2 separate regions of the Homo sapiens genome follow, and region 2 is linked to region 1. The links are contacts of gene promoters, found by promoter capture Hi-C in blood cells and fetal thymus (Javierre and others, 2016). All regions are on one chromosome and are shown on one strand. The core of a region is centred on a gene start or on the middle of the fragment in contact, and the rest is flanking DNA. Distances in the headings are between cores, read along the strand shown.

The links. The method cuts DNA at HindIII sites, captures the fragments that hold promoters and counts their contacts. A CHiCAGO score of 5 or more calls a contact.
Region 2: a fragment that was not itself captured here is called in contact with the fragment with the promoter of USP22 in region 1 in 1 of 17 cell types (naive B cells); the score reaches 5.7 in naive B cells.

What each region holds. Positions count from the first base shown.
Region 1 is chr17:21,040,912-21,044,722 of GRCh38, forward strand. It overlaps USP22 (ubiquitin specific peptidase 22), which reads right to left and starts at 2,100. Exons shown (of 13, transcript NM_015276.2): 1 at 1,754-2,100. The coding sequence starts at 1,924. RefSeq lists a silencer at 1,786-2,385 and enhancers at 1,921-2,870, 2,871-3,811. The HindIII fragment of the contact is 4,087 bases long and covers 1-3,400 here.
Region 2 is chr17:20,149,869-20,153,679 of GRCh38, forward strand. The region is part of intron 3 of SPECC1 (sperm antigen with calponin homology and coiled-coil domains 1); the gene reads left to right. Among named protein-coding and RNA genes, the nearest start is that of SPECC1, 140 kb to the left of the region's middle. The HindIII fragment of the contact is 3,769 bases long and covers 1-3,489 here.

The DNA of each region.
Region 1 (3,811 bases), core at 850-3,349:
TCTTGCTCTGTCACCCAGTCTGGAGTACAGTGGCGCGATCACTGCTCACTGCAACCTCCGCCTCCCGGGTTGAAGTGATTCTCCTGCCTCAACCTCTGGAGTAGCTGGGATTACAGGCGCCCGCCATCACACCCGGCTACTTTTCGTATTTTTAGTAGAGATGAGGTTTCACCATGTTGGCCAGGCTGGTCTCGAACTCCTGACCTCGTGATCTGCCCCCCTCGGCCTCCCCACGTGCTGGGATTACAGGCGTCAGCCACCGCGCCAAGCCAGGCCATCTTTTCTTAAAGACACACAATTCTACTAGCAAGACTCTAACTCCGATCCTGAAACGTTTTATGTCTGATTTTAGTTCATCCAGACATAACGCTACCTGATACCATTACAGATAAAAAAAATTTTGAGGCCGGGCACGGTGGCTCATGCCTGTAATCCCAACACTTTGGGAGGCAGAGGCGGGTGGATCACCTGAGATCAGGAGTTCCAGACCAGCCTGGCCAACATGGTGAAACCCCGTCTCTACTAAAAATACAAAAATTAGCCGGGCGTGGTAGCAGGAGCCTGTAATCCCAGCTACTCAGGAGGCTGAGGCAGGAGAATCGGCTGAACCCGGGAGGCGGAGATTGTAGTGAGCCGAAATCGCGCCACTGCACTCCAGCCTGGGGTACAAAGCGAGACTTCGTCTCAAAAAAATAATTTTTTTTTTGAATTACTGCTTAACATACCCTACAATCTCAGCGAGCCTGTTGGTATTCCCATAAATAAAAAAATGCCACTCAAGGTGGAAACTGCCCTCACAACTCCCAATCTCGGATTGTAATCTACAAAAGCGCGTGAAACTGTAAAAATAAACTTTATTCACATAGAAGAATCACGTTACGTTTTGATTTCCAAACCCTTACCAAGCCTAACTGCGGGACGCAAGACTGGGCTCCCCGAGGGGACTCACTCCTGGTTAAGGCCTCCCACAGCCCACGGCGCGCTTCCAAGTCTACTCCTCAGCCGCAACGCAAACCCGGGCTGTGGCTCCGCACCCACAGGCTCGCCCCGGCCCCAGCCCCTGCCGCCCTCCACCTCCAGCTCCTCGCGGGCCCCGAGGCAGCCGCGAAGCTCCGGCCCCGCGCCCCCCAGCCCGCCTCCTGCCCCAGCTCCCGTCCAAGGTCGCTCCTGGCGGCGGGTGACCGCTGCAGACCAACGCCCAGAACTCGACAGCCCCCCATCCTTTACTCATTTTTTTGAAATATTTCTTTCTCTGCACCCGCATCCAGCCCCGAACCCTCCAGAACCAGGAGAGTTCCCCGCAAGGACCTCGCGCAGGAACGCCCGGGACCGCCCACCGAAGTCCCAGGCTCCCCAGGCAGCAGGGCAGGAGAACACCACCCCCGGCCCGGAAGCACTCGCCCCTCCCGGGCCAAGAAGGATAAGGGAGGGGGAGGGCGGAGAGAAAGGAGGGGGAGGGGACAGAGAGGAGGGGGAGGGGACAGAGAGGAGGGGGAGGGAAAGGAAGAATGGGGGAAGGGGGGAGAGGGGAAGGATAGGAAGATGAGGAGATAAGGGAAGGGAGAGAGTTGAGGGGGGAAGGAAAGGAGGGGGAAGGGGTAAAGAGAAGAGAGGGCAGAAGGAGAGAGGAAGAGGAAGGACAGGGAAAGGCAACGGGGGAAGGGAAGAGGGCAGGAAAAGGGCCCCTCCGCCGGCCGGCCTCAGGAGCGGCAGAAGGCCCCGAGCCCGCCGCGCGGTGGGCTGCCGGGCGCACCTTGCGCTTGCGGGCCTCAGCCGTGCCGCTCCACACGAAGCACTGGTAGATGGCCCGCAGGTTCTGCTTCCAGTTGTCCACCTTGAAGCTGCCCAGGTGCGAGCAGCCCGGCGGCGCTACCGCCAGCTCGGCGTCCATGGCCTCGCCCTCGGGCTCTGGCCGGGACACCATGGGGGGCAAGGCCCGGCCGCGCGCGGGGGGCGGCGGCGAGGGAGGCGAGGACGACGCCAGCGCGGCGTGGGGGCTGCTCGGCGGCTGGCCAGGCTGGCCAAGGCCCGGGCGCCGAGAACAAAGCGCGGAGGCCGGACAAAGATGGGGCTGCGCGATCGCCGAGGGGAGGCTGCAAGGCAGGCACCGCCCCCGAGCTGCGGCTGCTGCGGACCGCCTGCGCTGCGCTCTCGCGGTTCGCGGAGGGTGTCGCGGGGCGGGGCGCCGCGGCCGCGGACGGAGATTACGTCACCCCCCCCCCCCCTCCCGGCCGGCACCGCACTGCGCAGTCTCCAGCCCGCGCCAGGCCCTTCCCCCACACTCGCGCGCCCGTTAGGCTCTGGGTAGACCCGCGCCCGAGGAAGCGTGGTAGGGGGGGGAAGCTAACGAGGGCCCGCCCCTCCCCTTCCTTTATTGGTAGTAGGCCACCCCCCCCCCCCCCCCGGCACCTTCGGCTATTGTCATAGGCTCTCAGTATAGTCCGTCTGGTACAGAGCCGCCTCCCGGGACCCTGGCGGCTAGACGTTCCCTGTCTCTTCCAGAGGACTGGGGAGGCGGGGGCGTGCTGCGGTTGGGCGGCGCGAGACGTCAGTCCTAGCACTGAACCGGTTTGCGCCGGCCTGAGCTCTGCCGCAAAGAGGCGGGGCGATGAGCTGGAGCGCCGCAGGTCGGGCCTCCATCCAGGGCCTGCGCTTTCCCACCCAAAAGCACCCCCTAATCGGGAGCTGTTTGCAGGGCCCCCGGTTGCCGTAACCTGGCTCGGGCCCTGCAGTGCCGTGGCCCGGGGCTGGAACTGCCTGCCAACTGCCTGGTAGGCGCTGCCCCCGGCCGCAAGCTGGGGCGCCTCCTGTCGGGAGCCCGCTGATAGTGAGGGCCAACCCGGCGCCATCCAGTTTAAAGAGGCATCTGCGCGCCACACGCCTGACACTTCACATTTGCTAGTGGCTACATTTTTCTAATGAAAAAAGAAAGTTACAGTAATATATCTCAACCCAATAAAGTCAAATTATTTCAGCATGTAGGCAGTATTGCAAAATCGTTAGTGGAATGTTTTACAGTTTTTGCAGCAAGTCTTGGAAATCTGGTATTTACACTTAAAGCACATCCAATTCCTACTAGCTGCTACCGCAGTGGGCGGCACAGGTCTAATCGGTATACAAATAACTGACCCAAGGCAAACTGAGAAGACATTTAAAGACGAATGCAAACGAAGTTCTGGGGGAACCAGGGCGCCAAGGGTCTGGGGGAACTTGGATAAGGTGTCAGGTGTGGAGCTGCTCCCCTGTACTCATCCCGCTGCTAACTGCTTTGCTCATTCATTCATCCACAGATTGCAGGAAACAGCAATTGCCGTCCAGAACCATCACAAGTTAAAAAATAAAGATTGTGATCTCACAACACTTAAAGCTACAGGGTTTAATGGACTGACGACTGGGATAAAGCTTTTGTGGCCAAGACAAATTGCCGAGCACAGGTTTTTGCCTCATGGCCTTCGTGCTTGCAGTACCCTCTCCCTAAAATGCTTTCCCTACCCCCTCACCCTCTGCATCCTTATATTCCATGTCTGATGCTCGCTCACCTCCTTCCAGCTTTATCACACACCTCCTTTTCCGTGAAAAGGAAAATTGCCACCCTAATGAAAATTGCAAGCCCCCCAAAATTCTCCATTCCCTTACCCTGCTTTGTTTTTCTCCAAAGAATTTATCACTATCTGGCGTAATGAATATTTACTTATTTTTTTTATTGTCTCTTCCCTTAATAGCATGAAAAATTACGAGAGGGTAATCTTTTTTTTTTATTTTTTATTTTTGAGACAGAGTCTCGCTCTGTTGCCCAAGGCTGGAGTACAGT
Region 2 (3,811 bases), core at 355-2,854, 890 kb before region 1:
ATATATAATGTACTTAGAATAGTGCCTGGCATGTAATTATTTCTCAACAAATGTTAAGAATTATCTTGCAAGCTAGATGTTTGTGTATATTTGTAACTATTTCTTTTCTTCTTTTTTTTTCTGAGATGGAGTCTCACTCTGTCTCCCAGGCTGGAGTGCAGAGGTGCGATCTCGGCTCACTGCAAGCTCCGCCTCCCGGGTTCACACCATTATCCTGCCTCAGCCTCCCGAGTAGCTGGGACTACAGGCGCCCGCCACCACGCCCGGCTAATTTTTTTGTATTTTTTTTTTAGTATAGTAGAGACAGGGTTTCACCGTTTTAGTCCGGATGGTCTCGATCTCCTGACCTGGTGATCTGCCCGCCTCAGCCTCCTAAAGTGCTGGGATTACAGGCGTGAGCCACTGTGCCCGGCCTTTTTTCTTTTTTTTTTTGGGACGGAGTCTCAGCTCATCACAACCTTTGCCTCACAGGTTCAAGTGATTTTTTCTGCCTCAGCCTCCCAAGTAGCTGGGATCATCCCTGCACTTTGGGAGGCCGAGGCGGGCAGATCACCTGAGGTCGGGAGTTCGAGACTAGCCTGACCAACATGGAGAAATCCCGTCTCTACTAAAAATACTAAATTAGCCAGGTGTGGTGGTGCATGCCTGTAATCCCAGCTACTCGGGAGGCTGAGGCAGGAGAATCGCTTGAACTCGGGAGGCGGAGGTTGCAGTGAGCCGAGATCGCACCACTGCACTCCAACCTGGGCAACGAGTGAAACTCTGTCTCAAAAAAAAAAAAAAGTGCTGGGATTACAGGTTTGAGCCACCGTGACTGGCCTGTAACTATTTCTTTCAAATAAATTTCTGTAAGAATAACTGCTGAGCTTAAGGATATGTACTTTTTTTAATGTGTTCTGGTCATAGTAGTAAAATATATTTATTAAGACAGATATTTGGTATAGAAAAAAAGTCTTTCCTAATTCTATATTTCAGATATAGTTATTTCTAATAATTTGCTATATACATGTCAAAATTTATTTCTACACATATTAATATGGACAGTAGAATATAGAAATTTTTAATAAAAATGGGACCACATATATATTATTTTATTGTTTATGCCTGTATATAAGGGATCTTTATATTCAGTGAAGTTCCATAAAAACCTTTTTGTCTTCCTTAAAACGCTTAGATTATAGGTGAAGTAAAAAATATGTAATTATAATGTCCAAGTTGTCAACTTAGTTATACCTTTACATTTGAAATTACACATTATAGAAATACAGTAATTTAGAAATTACAGACAGTCCCTGACTTATGATGGTTTGACTTAGGATTTTTTGACTTTGTGATGGTACAAAAGCTATACTGTACTTCAAATTTTGAATTTTGATCTTTTACCAGGCTAGTGATATGTGGAGCTACACTTTTTTGTGATGCTGGGCAGTGGTTGTGAGCCGCAGCTCCTAGTCAGCCCTGCAATCATGGGGGTAAACCTTCAACAGTACTGCGTTGTCAGCATTTTTTTGAATATTGTTTGCCAGCATTTTTGCATCCATCCTGTCTACAAAGCCCATCTCGACTTAGAATATTTTCAGTTTACAATGGGTTATTGGGACGTAACCCATCATAAGTTGAGGAGTGTCTGTACACTGTTGCTTTTTTTATAGTCATCACAGGCGTCTTTGACATGTCACCCTGTCACCATGATCATCAGAGCCACTTTTAAGGTTTACATCAGATACACAGCACATCAGCTTCACTTCCGCGTGTTGCTTGATTCCACTGGACTCTTTGATTCCACAGGAAATTTTATCCTGTTCATATAACATTCAGGCAGTTGGTTTTTCATTTGCCCAGGATGTGTGACTGCCACAACCTGACTGATCCCTGAACTGCTTTTTAAAATTATCCATGGCTGGGCATGGTGGCTCATGCCTGTAATCCCAGCACTTTGGGAGGCCAACTCAGGTGGATCACCTGAGGTCAGGAGTTCGAGACCAGCCTGACCAACATGGTGAAACCCTGTCTCTACTTAAAATAGAAAAATTAGCTGGGCATGGTGGCAGGCGCCTGTAATCCCAGCTACTTGGGAGGCTGAGGCAGGAGAATCGCTTGAACCCGGGAGGCTCTTGTCTTTGACATGCTAGTTCTGTGGGAGAAACCCCAGCTGGGCCTGGTGGCTCATGCCTGTAATCCCAGCTACTCGGGAGGCAGAGGGAGGTGGATCACTTGAGGTCAGGAGTTTGAGACCAGCCTGACCAACATGGTGAAACCCCATCTCTACAAAAATAAAAAAATTAGCCAGGCATGGTAGCATGCACCTGTAATCCCAGCTACTTGGGAGGCTGAGGCACGAAAATCACTTAAACCCAGGAGGCGGAGATTGCAGTGAGCTGAGATCACGCTATTGCACTCCAGCCTGGGCAACAGAGCAAAACTGTCTCAAAAAATAAAATAAAATAAAATAATACAAGCATTGACAGGTACAGAAGTACCATGAGGGAGACAGCATTGAATTCTGTCTGAGATGTGCAGGCAGACCAAAGGGGGGTGATAACAGAGCAAGAATTTAAAAGATGATATATATTACTCTGCTTCAGCTGCCATAACCAATTGCACAGACTGGATGGCTTAAACAGCAGAAATTTATTTCTCGGAGTGTTGGAGGCTGGAAGCCTGAGTTCAGAGTGCCAGCATGGCTGGGTTCTGGTGAGGAGTCTTCTTGGCTTATACATGCCACCATCTCACTGTGACCTCACATAACAGAAAGAGAGAGAGAGAAAGATCTCTTCCTCTTCTTTTTTTATTTTTATTTGTTTTATTTTGTTTTGTTTTTTGAGATGGAGTCTTGCTCTGTTGCCAGGCTGGAGTACAATGGTGCGATCTCGGCTCACTGCAACCTCTGCCTCCCGGGTTCAAGCGATTCTCCTGCCTCAGCTGAGAAGGTGGGACTAGAGGCACGTGCCACCACGCCTAGCTAATTTTTGTATTTTTGGTAGAGATGGGGTTTCACCATGTTGGCCAGATGGTCTTGATCTCTTGACCTCGTGATCTGCCTGCCTCAGCCTCCCAAAGTGCTGGGATTACAGGCGTGAGCCTCCGCCAGCCTCTTCCTCTTCTTATAAGGCCACCTATCCTGCTAGATTAGGGCCCCCCACCCTTATGACCTCATTTAACCTTAATTACCTCCTAAAGGCCCTGTCTCCAAATACTATCACATTGTGGGGGGTAGGGCTTCAACATGAATTTAGGAAGGACACAACTCAGTTCACAGCAGATGAATAAGCATTTGCCAGGCAGCTCAGTTATGGACGAGGTGTTGAAACCGACGGAATATAGCAGATATGAAAGCATAGAGGCCTGAAACAATAGGGTGTGTTCAGGGAGCTACAGCTGGCTCAACATTGCTGTAATATAAGTTGGGAGGGAGAACTTCTGAAAGCTGAGGCTAGAACAATAGGGGTGGAGGTGGAGCACATGATTATGAAGGACCTTGGTATACTAAGCTTAGAAGGACTTCATCTTAAGGGTAGAGGGGAGCCACAGGAACTTCTAGGCAGAGGCATGGCGCAGTCAGATTTGCATTTTTGATAATTCAGGTGGAGGAGCAATTTAAGTAGCAGCGAAAGTGGAAGTAGTAAGTTAGTTGGGAAGCTAATGCAGTAGCCCTTGTGAAGCAAAGATGCAGCAAAGACAAGAGAGGCAAAGTCTGGAAAATGTTAAGGTGATGAAATGTGCAGGACTTGACTAGATATTTTAAATGTGGGAGGTGAGAGAGCCATAGGAGTCCAGGTTGGGTTGGGGTCTTACTTGTCCAGTTTCCATA